Regions from separate parts of the Homo sapiens genome. Here regions 1, 2, 4 and 5 are each linked to region 3. Evidence: promoter capture Hi-C in 16 types of primary human blood cells and fetal thymus (Javierre and others, 2016). All regions are on one chromosome and are shown on one strand. Each heading gives the region's core, a stretch centred on a gene start or on the middle of the fragment in contact. The rest is flanking DNA. Distances are from core to core; before and after follow the strand shown.

Evidence for each region. The method cuts DNA at HindIII sites, captures the fragments that hold promoters and counts their contacts. A CHiCAGO score of 5 or more calls a contact.
Region 1: a contact is called between a fragment that was not itself captured here and the fragment with the promoter of CCNE2 in region 3, in 1 of 17 cell types (total B cells). The highest score is 7.1, in total B cells.
Region 2: a contact is called between a fragment that was not itself captured here and the fragment with the promoter of CCNE2 in region 3, in 7 of 17 cell types (fetal thymus, total B cells, total CD8 T cells and 4 more). The highest score is 9.2, in fetal thymus.
Region 4: a contact is called between the fragment with the promoter of VIRMA here and the fragment with the promoter of CCNE2 in region 3, in 12 of 17 cell types (fetal thymus, neutrophils, monocytes and 9 more). The highest score is 14.7, in fetal thymus.
Region 5: the fragment with the promoter of RAD54B here is called in contact with the fragment with the promoter of CCNE2 in region 3 in 14 of 17 cell types (fetal thymus, naive CD8 T cells, total CD8 T cells and 11 more); the score reaches 20.8 in fetal thymus.

The regions. Positions count from the first base shown.
Region 1 is chr8:95,302,007-95,304,706 of GRCh38, forward strand. All of the region lies in intron 1 of CFAP418-AS1 (CFAP418 antisense RNA 1), which reads left to right. Among named protein-coding and RNA genes, the nearest start is that of TRS-AGA2-5, 34 kb to the left of the region's middle. The HindIII fragment of the contact is 1,315 bases long and covers 595-1,909 here.
Region 2 is chr8:95,248,680-95,251,505 of GRCh38, forward strand. The region is part of intron 5 of CFAP418 (cilia and flagella associated protein 418); the gene reads right to left. Among named protein-coding and RNA genes, the nearest start is that of CFAP418-AS1, 19 kb to the right of the region's middle. The HindIII fragment of the contact is 1,582 bases long and covers 570-2,151 here.
Region 3 is chr8:94,893,869-94,896,779 of GRCh38, forward strand. It overlaps CCNE2 (cyclin E2), which reads right to left and starts at 1,333. Exons shown (of 12, transcript NM_057749.3): 1 at 1,309-1,333; 2 at 340-379; 3 at 155-251; 4 at 23-76. The coding sequence starts at 353. It also overlaps a transcript of NDUFAF6 not described here. RefSeq lists an enhancer at 145-706 and silencers at 1,323-1,542, 1,923-2,022, 2,153-2,202, 2,373-2,422, 2,703-2,911. The HindIII fragment of the contact is 5,265 bases long and covers 1-2,911 here.
Region 4 is chr8:94,552,153-94,554,852 of GRCh38, forward strand. It overlaps VIRMA (vir like m6A methyltransferase associated), which reads right to left and starts at 1,317. Exons shown (of 24, transcript NM_015496.5): 1 at 1,233-1,317. The coding sequence starts at 1,295. It overlaps VIRMA-DT (VIRMA divergent transcript), which reads left to right and starts at 1,561. Exons shown (of 2, transcript NR_183271.1): 1 at 1,561-1,755. RefSeq lists an enhancer at 1,011-1,630. The HindIII fragment of the contact is 4,366 bases long and covers 383-2,700 here.
Region 5 is chr8:94,473,725-94,476,424 of GRCh38, forward strand. RAD54B (RAD54 homolog B) reads right to left here and starts at 1,391. Exons shown (of 15, transcript NM_012415.3): 1 at 1,277-1,391. RefSeq lists an enhancer at 1,124-1,353. The HindIII fragment of the contact is 4,488 bases long and covers 683-2,700 here.

The sequences.
Region 1 (2,700 bases), core at 2-2,501, 410 kb after region 3:
TCTCAGGCTTATCTCGGGCCAGAGCTATTCCAAGGTCCCAGGCAAAGCCAGGACTGGAACCCTTGTCTGCTTATCTAAGGCTAGTGGTGGAAGGGTGGGGATGGAGGCAACTGCAGTGAATCCTGCACCCCCACTTCCTAGGCCTCCCAACCTCCCCAGCATTTTTGAAGTTCCAAACATGTTTCTGGGTTCTCTATCTTGGTCCCCAAGCGACCTTGGCCTTAAACACATCGTGAGTCTTTAGTGCTCTGCTCAGAACTCAAAAGGTTGGTGTAACTAAGATAGAAATGCTGTGTCTACAGCCGTTGCTGTGAAATGGGAATGGAAAGGGCTGCCAGGAAGTGAAGTCTAGTCTCTCTCAATGTGTGAGGTGCAAAAAGAAAAGCTGCTGTTCTGTCTCTGAGACCTTGGATCTCTAGGAGGAGGGATGAGAGTTAAACTTCCTTTACATTTTTTCACTTTGCTATATTACTGCCTTGGACTGTTTCTACTTTTCTTCTGCTTCTATCTTCCCTTCTTTTGATGAAAGAGAAGGGGGAACTGGGCAATAATCTGATTTAATGAAACCTGCCATGCTATTTGAGAAAAACTGAAAGCTTTGTTTTAGGTTAAAATGAAAAATTGTATATAATGTAAAATTAGTAAAACAGACATGTTAGGGGAGCACGTGCTGGGATTTGTTAGAATGAAAGTACCCTGTCTCAGCTTTGAGGAACCACCGCAGCCTACTGTGGGTTGTGGGTTATGGACAAAGGCGGCACACAGGATGTCACATATGCCTGTGCAGTGAAATTATCGAGAGACTGGATGGGCAGGATTAGAGGTCAAGAGCTTGACCAGGTAAAAGGGATCTTCTAGTTCTCTTTAGATAGTTGAAGCTGACCGCTTCTCAAGGAAAAATGTGTTTTAGGGTATTCAAGAAAGCACAAGAAAATCAATATTTTTAGGCTAGTTTTAAAGGGGTATTTATTGGCTGGTGGGTTAGGCATCTAATAGTTAACCAGTAGGTTACATTTATGGATTAGTAGCTAGGAAATAAAACATGAGATTCTTTGTGTCTTAGTTTATTCAGGCTGCTGTAACAAACTACTATAGACTGGGTGGCTTAGAAACGACAGAAATTTCTTATTTCTCAGGAAACTGAGAAGTCCAAGATCAATGCAGTGGCAGATTTGGTGTCTGGTGGAGGCCCATTTCCTGGTTCATGGATGGATGGTCTTGCTGTAACTCCACATGGCAGGAGGGACAAGAGATCTCACTTAGGACTCTTTTATAAAGGCAATAATCCCATTATAAGGGACCTAATCACCTTTCAAAGATCCACCTCCTAATACCATCACCTTTCAAAGATCCACCTCCTAATACCATCACCTTGGGGTTGAGGATTTCAATACATGAATTTTTGTGGGGCATGGTGGGGGGCATTAACACTTTTTATCCATTGAAATTTTCAGAAATTTCCCACAAAACTACAGACTGAGTTTTACAAATGGTTTTCAGAGTCAGTAGCCTGAAGTCAGATAGGTTAGGTTCAAATTCCCTCACTAGTGTGCTTGATCCTGGGGCAAGTTAGTTCTCTGAACCTTGATTTCTCTCATCTTTGAAATGGGGATTATTATGGGAATTAAATGTACTACTAATGTATGCGAATGTGGTTTGTAGAGTGCCATTTAAATATTAGTCGTTATGCTTCCAAAGTCCTATTTCCTAGAAGATTAAATTGGATGTCTCATGGGGTCTCAGGAGTTTGTCTTTTGTTTTTTGATCCACCTATAGGCATACACAAAATGTATTCCAGCATCATTACCAAACTGCAGTGGTATTCTGGGATCTGAGCCTAGGTTTCTCTTTCTCTTTTAATGATAAATAAATGAATAATCACCGTGGTTGCAAAGTTCGGGTGAAGCCAAGCTTTTCCTTTTCCTCAGCGCAGGCTCTCTGGGCTGAAGCCTATGTGGAACTGGGGAAAGGCATGGCTGGGGCCTCTTTCCCTAACTTGTTCTACTTCTGCACCACTCACTCTGCTGCCCTGGATGGAGGTGGAGGTGAAAGGGAAGGTGAAGGGGCTGGGAAAGTCCTGTTTGGCAGGACAGTAGTAACCTGCCACTGAGGCGGCTTGGATGATGCAGTGTTAGTGCTTACTCTTGGTGGGCAGAGGGAGTTTGCAGTGAGTTTTCAGGGACTCTGGTCTTAGCATTTTTCTACATGCAATTCGCTTAATGTGGGCAGTTACTCCTGCAGTTGGACATCTGTGGCTCTCCCCTCAGCCCCTGGCTCCTGGCAGTCTGTCTCTCTGTTGGGGTCACCTTATCCCTCCAGGGGATCCATTTAAGATAACCAGAGTCTGGTTCTCTTCCATGGGGTTTCCAGTTGCCTAGTGAGAACTCTGTGGATGTCTGTTTCCCACTCAACGCTGGAAAGCCTGGCTGTTCCCTTCATTCTGCCTCTTTGCTACCGGGTAGCCATTCCAGCCAGCTTTTCATCTTCAACACTAGAGGGACGAGTCAGGTTTTAGTCCACAATCTCCAGGGAACAAACAGAAAACTCTCCAAGTTGCCCTCTTGAAGAGCCCTCTTGGCATTAGGAGGGGGAAGCACCACCTTCTCCTTGTCCTTGGGGACTCTTGGACACCCATAACTCTCTTCAGAGAAAATCCCAACTACCTCCTAACTTCTGTCTTCCTGATGAATTCTATATTTC
Region 2 (2,826 bases), core at 111-2,610, 350 kb after region 3:
CAATTATGATTTCATGATAATCCATGTAATGAGTTCATATAAACATTCCATGGCAAAGAAAAGTAGAAAAAATTTTTAAAAAAGATGAAAAAATACAAAGTGAAAGGACGAAATACAGTATGAATACCAGAAAAAGAGATACGGTACCTAACCATTGCTTGTGGATATCACTGCAACAGAAGGCAGGCTACAAAGTGCCCTCTGGTGGTCAATGGGCACCATATTCAGTATTAAACTGTACGAAATTCAGGCACAATTTAGAAGGTTAGAACCTCACAAAACCTGACAGATTTTCCAAGCCAACTGTCTGACTTCAGGAAACAGACTGACTAGCTAAACGACTTAGCTAAGGGAAGAAATGAATAATCTAAATTTTAACAGAAAGAAAAAAACCCCGCCAAAACTAAGTTGTTGAGGAAAAATGTCCTTTATTTGATCTGCAAAATATTTTGAAAACTTAACATTTGATACTTGACTGAATCCTTAGCGATTTTAGGATTAGGAATCATGAATAGGCAGGGATCTAATTATGACATTTGAAATGGTTTTTAAAATGCACGTATCTTAAAAGCTTAGGGAAAAATCATTCCATTCTTAAAGAAAACACGATTTAATAGAAAAATAAAAGCATTTTCTTCAGCTGTTGTGGCAAGGTGGTCAGTAAGTATAGCTGACACTTCTTTTACAATGTTCTAAAACTTGTCTGGGTGTGGTGGGTCATGCCTGTAATCCCTGCACTTTGGGGAGCCAAGGTGGGTGGACCACTTGAGCTCAGGAGTTCGAGACCAGCATGGGCAACATGGTGAGACCCCATCTCTACAAAATTAGCTGGATGTGGTAGTGCGCACCTGTATTCCTAGCTGCTCGAGAGGCTGAGGCCGAAGGATCCTTTCAATCTGGGAAGTGGAGGTTGCAGTGAGCTGAAACTGCAGTCCTGCACTCTAGCCTGGGTAACAGGGTTTGCAAGATTGGCTCAGAAAAAAAAAAAAAGTTCTAAAACTTCTCAAAGATAGGATACATTTATTTCTCTCATCTGTAAAATAGGACAATAAAACAACTGCACAGCATTCCACTGTGTAACATTTAACTTGTCTTTGGTCACTGTCCACTTCTGGTTTCCTCAGTGATTATTCCACATCCTCCTCCACTCCCTTATTTTCAGCAGATCACATCTTCATTCTCAAAACCAGGTCGCCAGGTATGAAAGCCTTCAATTTCCTGGCAAGCTCACCCTGAACACATCAGTACCTTGCTGGCTTCCTCTCAGTCACAGAGGTCTTCCTTTTCCTATCCAAGGCTCACCTCCCATCAGTGCTCTTGACCCTATTGTCTCTATGACCTTGCTGCTCACATGCTTGTCCCCACCCATGTCTCCCTTCCCCTGGGTTCCTCTCATCTTATGAGCCCAGTATCTAAGAGTGTCATAGACTAGGTGCTGAATAATGTCTACTGGTAAACACCAATATATTGTACAAAATAAATCTATCAGTGATTTATATCCTAATGGTGGAGACCGCCTTATTCTTTAGCTGTTCCATTCTCTTATCTCCCAAACATATTCCTAAGTGTCTTGAGAACTGAGACAGTATTTTCTACTGATTTAAATAATGACTACTTGTTTATTTTTAATAGTATAATAAATCCTCTAGTTGTCACTGTTTTATCTAAAAGTACATATATTTTTTAAACCAGGCTGCCACAGATCTAGGGTAAACCAACTGGTGTTCTTGATAACTCTGAGATGCTGCAAGTTCCTCAAGTACCGACTAGGTTATCCATAGTTTACTTTATGCCTGTGTTCACCACTGCCTTGATGTTACATGCATTTTATTATCCTATGATAGTTTTATAAAAATTCATGCTTCATCTTGGTGACATATGGGGATTATTAACCACTTATTAGATTAACTAGTAGACAGTAAATAGCAGAGGGTTTAGAAAAGTCAGAAAAGGGAAAGTCAACCTGTAATTAAAAGCCAACTTTTCCACTTATGGGGTAAAAAGTGGGCTAAGCCTAAAAGTATGGGTTCCTAACCTCAGATTTTGGGAGTACATTAGGCTTTATTTGGGTTGGAAACTGTAAAATTTTTCAAGTTATAATTTTTCCATGTATTTTTATATTTGAATTGTATGTGTATGAGGGGCATTCAAAGCTTTCATAAGATTTGCAAAGTGGTTCTTGATGTGAAAAAGTTTAAAAACTATTAAATTAGGGTATACTCATAGATTTACCCAAGAATGGCTGCCAAAAAAGGCGTAGGGGAAAGTCTCTTACCCTTTTCTTTATGCTATTGAAAAGTGCTGCAATATTACACTGTATTAATTTTTAGCTTTAAATTTTTATTTGAAAATGTCAATGTAAAGTTCAAATATATTTTTATAACTTGTAACACCTTAAAGATAGTAGGTATTCTGTAAGTGTATAAGAATGTACAAATTATATAAATATGAGCAAGACATTATCTCAGCCACAAGGAGGGAGGTAGTCATACACCAACCTAAGAGCTTCAGTTTTATATTACAGTATATAATAGGTCCAAAGCACCGTGAATACACAGGAAGGGAAGAGTTTTCTTCCAGTTGAGAGAGTGGTGAAAGAATCATGGAAGACATGTGATGAATTATACTCTGAAGGACAGGTAGGGTTTAGGTAGATAAAATGGTGGGAAGGCATCCCAAGAGGTAAAGAGGTTGTACAAAGTCAGAGGGAATGGGAGCCTTGAGTACTCTGATGTAGCTAAAATCTTGCAAAGGTGAAATATACATTGTGGGAAGACAAAGCTGGATGATGGATGGATGGGAGCTGGATTATGGAGGGTCATGAAT
Region 3 (2,911 bases), core at 83-2,582:
ACCCAGCCCAGTTCTGCATTACCCTAATTTCATACTGATGTTTCTTGGTGACCTCCTCTCTTCTTTTTTTGACATCCTGGAAAATAGAAAAGACCATTGGTAAACTAAAGTCCCAGCATGGAATTTCGTTCCTCCCTCTTTCTCCTTAAATCACCTGGGTAGTTTTCCTCTTCTTGGCCTGGATTATCTGGGCTTCTTGGGGGGATTCCGTCTGGCTGGGCTGGGGCTGCTGCTTAGCTTGTAAACGGCTACTGTAGTGAATTTTTAAAAAGGAAGTGTAATTAGTAAGTTAAAGGCAGCAACTAATTTGAAACATGTCTCTAAGACAGATAATGTTACCTTCGTCTTGACATTCTCTTCTTTCAGGTGTATAAAACCTCTGAAGGGGGGAGAGGAAAAGCCGCAGTCAAGTACATTGTCATTCACATTCTCCAAGTGCCAGTAAGACGCTGATTCGCAGGTGAAAGCTCAGTCCCTCCGAAGGGGGCCTGGGCCCTGTGACCCTGCCATCTTCTGTGCTATGTTAGCTAGCTCATGGTAATTCATTTTGGATACAAGCCTGCATTTCCTCAACTGAATGTACAGCTGGAACGCGAGTGTCCAAAAATTTACCAAGCACTCCTGACACCTTGAACGCGCAGGGAGGCACATCTTCCTCAAACGGGTTTTTCTGGGTCCTCCACCCTCTCCCCCGTACACCGGGAGTGGGGCTTGGGCAGCGCCCCCACGTCCCGCCTCCCTCCTGGACCAGCGGGGAGAGGGGGTTGTGGAGGCGAAATGCTGTGGAGAAGCCGGTTCCGCGCCAATTTGGAGAGCGGCGGTGGCGGGGAAGCAGGGGGCGGAGGAACCAAGACTGGTGTCACGGCCTCCAGTCTCCTTTCCCTCCTTCCCGGCCCTGCCGCCCTACCGCCGCTCGGAGGGGCGCCGGGACCCCAACTCCAGATGGGAAGCGGAGGGCGTGGGGGAGGGCAGGAAAAGGAGCTAAAGAAAGGGGAGACTGGGCTGGCTGGGAACTTTTCTCCCCATGGAGGGGACCCGGCCTCCCATCCTCTCTCCCACGGGATAGCTCCCCAAATGAGGGTGGGATAGAGAAGCCCCTAGAATGAGGGGCGGCTCTCCATGCCCAGCCGCTTCCCGGTCCCCTGCCAAGGTTCCTGACAGGGACGGAACGCGGGAACCCATGACCCCCAGTCGTCTAGTTCTCAGCCCTCCCGATTTTCCTCCCTGAGGCTCCCGCCTGTGGTAAGTGATCGGCCCAACTGGGCTTTCTTTCCTCCCACATCCCCCCTACGCGCAGCAACTCCTCACCGCCAGACCAGCTACCGCTCGGCTCAGCTGGCGCCGGCGCCAACCCAATATATAGGCCGGGCCGGTCCCGCCCCGCACGCATGCGCCTCAGACTGACACCTCCGGACAGCGCGCTCCCCTCTCCCGCCCGTCCGCCCGCGTGCCCGCGCGCCGCGCCCTGCTCTCAGTGCGCGCCCGCCACCCGGAGCGGCCGTGGGGTCCACTCTACCGGGCCTTCTGCCCGCGTCCACCGCGCTCCACGGCGCGGCCGGCGGCGGTAGGGAAACTCTCAGGGGCTCCTTCTCCGCGGCTGTTCTCCCCGCCGCCTGGCTCGCGCATCTCCCGCCAGTTTGCTTTTGCTTCCTCCCACTGCAACTCCTGGATTTCGGGGGTGTCAGCCTGCGGCTCAGCCCGGGCGCATAACAGGGGGACACGACTCGGGCGACCATAGGGTGGCTGGGAAGTGACCGTCCAGGGGCGCGCCCTAGCTGTCCCGCCAAGGCCTCAGGGAACCCAGGTCTTTCCTGAGCGACGCGGGGACCCGAGGGCCCGCCCCTCGGGGAGGAGCAAAGCGTTGGCTGAAGAGCTGGCCAATGGGAGGCACGGGCGGCAGCACAACGTGGAGTGGCTGCAGAATGTAAACACCACTCAGCCACGCGCCTGGCCAAGTGCGGCTCTGCTCTCCCCAGTCCCGGTCCGCGACCACCCGGAGCCCGCTCCGCCGGCCTTGCGCGGCGCGCCCAGGGAAGGCATTTCCAGCCCGCCCACCCAGGTATGTATCAACCCTGCTTTCCGGCTCCCTGCTCCCCCTACCGGGTTTCCCTCCCCATGGGTCGGTCGCTCCCCCAACCCGCCGCTCTGCCCCTGCAGTGGCCTCCAGCTGCCACCCCGCAGTCCCCGCGCAGGAAACGCTCGCGCCACGCCGCGCCCTCCCTTGCTTCCTCTCTTCTCCACCTCCAATTCCGGGATCCCAGAGGGTAAAACCCCTCTCCGGAGCGGGGCCCGGGAACGGCATTCCTCCTCCCCCTGAGCGCGGTGGTCCCCGGGGACCTGGCCGGGTGGGAAGAAAGATCGCCACCACGTGCAGGCCCCGGGCCCGCCTGCCGCGCCCCGCCCCGCCGCCGCCGCCAGCGCGCCCTGCGGAGCCCGCGCGAGCCGGCAGCGCGGGAGGGCGCCGTTCGCGCCCGAGCGCTGTTGGGAGGAGGGGGGCCCGACGCTCTTCCTTTATCCTTCCCCGGGTGTTTAAACTTAGGGGTCCCTTCGCTGCCTCTATGAATGCCCCCACAACTGGCGCACCCCAAAACTGCACATCGTCAAGTCAGACTTGCGGCGGGTATTCCGCAAACAGGTTTTGCGGCGGGAGCAGCGAGGCGGGGAACAGCTCCGGGAACAAAGATCCCCCGGGTGGAGGAGCAGTGCGAAGGCGTCTCGGAACCCGCGGTAGCTCGGGCGGGCCGCGTCTGCCCAGGCCCTGAGCGAGCCGGACGGCGAGCGGGCCGCGCCGGGGAGACGGAGCCTCGCGGGCGGGAGCCCTTCCCGAGATGCACCGGGAGGCGGCGCCCGGCGACCCCCGCTCCCGCCCGGCCTTTTGTGCTGCGCCGCTCGAGCGCGCTTGAGGCCCGGG
Region 4 (2,700 bases), core at 67-2,566, 340 kb before region 3:
CCCACATTAAATGTCAGACCATAAATTAACTGTCAGTAAGAAATGCTAACTCAAAGTTCTCCAACTTTTGACTTTTACAAACCTATAAACCATTCGTTAAATTAGATCACAGCTGTCAACTTTTTATTTTGCCAAGTAAAGCATTATGATACAATCACTACCCACTATCATTACTATCTCATAAAAGAAAGAACATTTTAAACATTTTCCATTCAAATATTTATTGAGCACCTACATTTTGCTAATACTGTCCTAGGCACTGGAGATACAGCTGAGAAAAAGAGAAATTATATCTGTCCTCAAAAAGCTTGATACAAGAGCACACTTGATAAAAATAAAAGGAAAAAAATAATCTCCAAAGAAAGAACAGTTCTCTAAATTAAGCTTACATTAAGACAGAAAAATGTGAAGTTCGTTTTTTTTTTTAACAATTTCTCCGTAGACTTCATTCAAGTTCATTTTTGGTCTGCTTTCAGGAATCTTTAGTTAACCAGCTATGTTTAATCTACATATTGCAGGGCCAATTGTACATTAAGGGGCGCTCAAGTAGTTTTGTACAGAAATATTACTCCACAACATTCCACCTCCAACCTCAAAGGAGATGTCTGCTGATGAGTTTAACTATAATTCTCTCAACTCTCCCCTCTTCGCAAGTATTCTCCGTGAATGCATCTCATTCCTAATGTGTGAAATCTCTCCGAGAGACAAGTATTAAAGTTTCAGGCCAAATCGGAGAGCACCGTAATCCTAAACCAAGTAAGTGTCACAACTGGGGAACATAATTCCCGACAGAAAAGAGGCCAAAGAGAAAGGATTTAGAAACATCGTGATTCGGAAACCACGAAGCCAACGTAAACTGCTCAGACTCCGGCACTACTGTCAAACACTACTGGCAAACCAAGACCCCTCCCAAACGCCATCTGAGGTAAACCTGAGAACCCTGATCCTTCTCAAGGCCCAAACCTGACAGGAAAAATAAAAAATAAAGCCATGCAAGCAGAAAAGCCAACTCGACCAAAGACACGGAGGGCCCAAGTTAAAGCAAGGAAATGAAGGGGCTGCTGCAGCCCTCCCTCAGACGCGATGCTCACACAGCTCGGGGGAGGGTGTCTGTGTGTAAGCGAGAAATTAAAGAAGCAATCTGCAGAAGGAAAAGTGGAGAACGCCTAACGGTTTTTTTGTAAAGATCCCAAGTCAAGAAGCAGCGTCAGAATCAAGTCGCCAAGCCTTACCTCAGCGCTCGGGTGTTTAAAAGTATCTAAAAATAACAGCTCCATCGCCGAGTCCACCGCCATGTTTGCCGCGGGCGGGGAACAGGGGGGAGGACTTCCGGGGCAGCGCTCCAGCCTCCGCGACAGCGACTCAGGAGAGGGAGAAACAGAGGGACTTCCGGTGACCAGAGCACTAGCGCCGCAAACCTCGGCCTATCCCAACGCATCTTGTTGCCCGGAGTTGCCGGCCCCGCCTTTTCCAGCGCGGCGGAGGGCGCCCCCTAGAACGCAGAGGGGGGGCAGAGGGAAGTGAGATGGGGACTACGGGGTCTCCAGTGGTTCAAACCCTGTCGTTCCTCCGCGTTACAGAGCTACAGCGGTCTCCGGGTGGCGAAGTGCGGAGACGGGGTTTTGGAGACGGTGGATGGAGGAGGGGGAGGGAAAGCTGCCAACTTTGGATACCAACCCCGTACACCCACCGAAGGGGATGTCCCACTTTTTCCAGCGCTGGGAGCAAAAAGATAACAGTGAGCGAGGTTGAAAAGTAAGACATTGATTTAAATAGAAGAAAAACTGTTGTTTCAACCAACGAAGAGATTCTTTGTTTTCTTATCTGTAAAATGTGAAAAATCGTACCTAACCTACAGGGTGATTGTGAGGAGTAATTGAAATAAAATTCGAGGAATTGTGTAACGTGAAGTACCATGAACAATAAAACAGGAGGCAGAATGAAAAGTAAGCCTCTCTGTCGGGTGTTGATGAGCTTTGGAGCAACGAGATAAACTCAGCGGGTTTGGTAGTCTAAATGGCACAAACCCTTAGCAGAGCAACTAGGAAATAGCTTGTAAAATTACACGTGCCTACCACTCTTCTAGGAAAATTCTCGCCCACGTATCTACAAATACAAGAATATTCATAGCAAACTTTATAAGTTGCAAAAGAGCAGGAAACATAAGTGCCATTGACAGAAGTAATAAGTAAATAGTGGCGTATTTATATAATAGTATATAGCAGGTACGAAGAATGAACCAGTGCTATGTTTACTAGCATGAAAAACCCAAAAAACAGGGTTGGTGGGCGCTTTGGCTCACGCCTGTAATCCAGCACTTAGGGAGGATGAAGCGGGAGGATCGCTTGAGCCCAGGAGTTGGAGAACTGCCTGGGCAATATAGCGAGACCCCGTTATTCACAAAAAGAAAAAAAAAAGACACAAACCAAAACAAAACAAGTTTAACTCCTCTCATCGCAAGCCGGGTGCGGTGGCGTGTTCCTGTGGTCCCAACTTCTCGGGAAGCTGAGACAGGAGAATCTCTTAAGCCCAGGAGTTGGAGGCCAGTGGGGACACCCATCTCTTAGAAAAGGAAATAAAAAATATATAGTGTAAAATAACATCTATATATTTAAAAACGTGCAAAAGAATATAAAATTTTAGGAGTGTACATATGTCATGAAATTATAAAGTCATGTATTGGAGTAACTAAAATTTCAA
Region 5 (2,700 bases), core at 141-2,640, 420 kb before region 3:
AATGTAAGTACACCAACTCTACCAAGAACCAGCAACGGTCTCTCCCTGCTGTTGCTGCTTGTCGACTTCCAACTACATTAGGTAGTAATTATTTCACTTCATGCCTTAAATTGCTCCTTTGAGACTCCGGCTATATAGATGGTTCCTAATTTAGGACGGTGTCACTTAGAATTCTTCGACTTTTAAGAAAGCCATGAGCATTCAGTAGAAACTGTACAAGTAACCACACAACCGTCTGTGTTCATGATTTTGCCCAACTGTAGATTAAGGTAAGTGTTCTGAGCATGTTTAAGGTAGGCTAGCGCAGCCATAAAAAGGAATGAAATCATGTCCTTTGCAGCAACATGGGTGCAGCTGGAGGCTATTATCCAAAGCGAATTAAAGCAGAAACAGAAAATCAAATATTGCATGTTCTCACTTATAAATGGGAGCTAAACATTGGGCATTCATGAACATAAAGATGGCAACAATAGACAGTGGAGACAACTAGAAGGGAGAGGAAAGGAGGAGCAAGGGTTCAAAAACTATTGGGTAACATGCTCACTACCTGGGTGACAGGATCAATCGTATCCAAACCTCAGCACCACGTAATATACCGATGCAACAAACCTGCACATGTACCCCCAAATCTAAAATAAACAGCTGAAAATAATTTTTTTGATAACAAAAGTAGGCTAGGCCAAGCTTTAATACTCAGTAGGTTAGCTGTGTTTTAAATCCATTTTCCATTTGGGATATTTTCAACCCCGTAGTAAGTCGAGAAGCATCTGTTCCTACCTAGAAAATCTTCCATAAGGTAATCGATTAAAAGGTTTTAAGGAAATACAAGAAAAACCTGACCAGTGAAGAGGTAAAAGCCCCTAAAGAAGGCGTACCGACACTCTCCAGGACGCTCGCAGAGCCTTCACCCCCTGGCCCTGGGGAAGGAAATTCCCAGTGCAGGAGTGAGGGAGAGACCCAAAAGCCAAGAGGAGCCTGCGCAAAGCGACCGCAGTGGCGGCCCCAGGGGCCACTGCCCAGAACCATCCCTCCCACACAAACGCACAACCCTAAACCCCCACCGCCCGCCCTTCGCTCCAAGGCCCCCGGGGCCAGCAACCAGGGCGTCCCTGGCACTTCAGACCAAAGCTGCAGGCCCGCAGAAGGCCACTTCGGTCGCTCCTGCCGCCTTCCCTCCCTCCTCCCTCGTTGGCCTGCTCCGGCGCCACTCCCTGCTTTGTCCCGCACGAGCCTACAGGCTGTCGCAGCCTCCCGAGCTTCCCCCTGCAGGACGCACCGGCGAAAATCTGACAGAAACCACTGGCCCTGCAAAGAAGTCCTTCTGGTAACCAGCTATCCCCTCGCCGCCGGAGAAGCTCAAGGATCCCGCCTCGGCGAAGCCAATCGCGGACGAGCCCGCCGCGCGTGCGCACTACCTAGCCGCTGCACTGCCCTGTCCTGCCCTACTCTGATTGGACGACCCTACTGCATCACTGCGCATGTATCTTTGCGTTTGGCTTTAAATGCTTCCAAGTTTGATTCAAGTTTACGGTTCAATTAAAAAAATACTGGTTTAGTGCCTACTTTCAGACACAGTGTAGATGCCGAGGCTACAGACCTCACCATCTGCGTGGATAAGTAATAAATACGGTATGATTCGGTGTGTGCGATAATAGAAATGCGTGCATCGCAGAAGTATACGATATCCTATTGGTTATTCATTCATCCGAAAAAACATTGACTTAGCGGTGCCTGCAGGATAATTTTCAAACTCTTTGTTAGGTTCTGGGAATATAGAAACGAATACGTGATTATTAGGCTCTCAGAAAAGGGGAGCCGCCTCCGGACTTGGAAAAGCATTAAAGCATGTTAAGTAGGAAAGTTACATCATTCAATGAGTATTTACTGAGCACCTTCTAAGTGCTAGGCGGTAACACAGTCAACTATCCCTGAAAAATGGTATTAGAAAGGCTAATCTGAAAGGAGAGAGAATGGCTAAAGGTTGTTTATTGAGTTTTATCCAGCAGTTTGACAAAAAGTAAAAGCTAAAAAATATCAAGGGTGAAATGAAGATGTGAAACAATGGGAACTCTTGGGCTGCTGGTAGGAGTGTAAATAGGTACAGCCATTTAAAAGAGTAATTTGAGGCTGAGAGCGGTGGCTTGTGCCTGTAATCCCAGTACTTTGGGAGGCCGAGGCGGGCGGATCACTTGAGGTCAGGAGTTCGAGACCAGCCTGGCCAACATGGTGAAACCCGGTCTGTACTAAAAATACAAAAATTAGCTGGTTTTGGTGGAGCGCGCCTGTAATCCCAGCTACTCAGCAGACTAAGGCGGGAGAATCGCTTGAACCTGGGAGGTGAAGGCTGCAATGAACCGAGATGGTGCCGCAGCACTCCAGCCTGGGCAGCAGAGAGACCCTGTTTCAAAAAAAAAGAGTAATGTGCTTAAGGAGCTTTTATCCTGGGGACTTTTTCCAGTCATAAAGAGCACCTCATAGGTTGAGTTGTGCTTTTGGCAGCTCCTGGAGCCAGCGTTACAAGAATTTGAAATGGGGACCTGCCAAGGTTGGGCACCTTAGTAAACCGCACCCCCCTCTTCTTTGGACTGGGACACATAAAGAGTAAGGGTAACCAGAAAACAAGCTAGCTTCATAGTGTCTGCAGCCTACCTTAATATCATCTGGGGAGTTCAGAAAATCTAAAACAGATTGGCTAAAGGT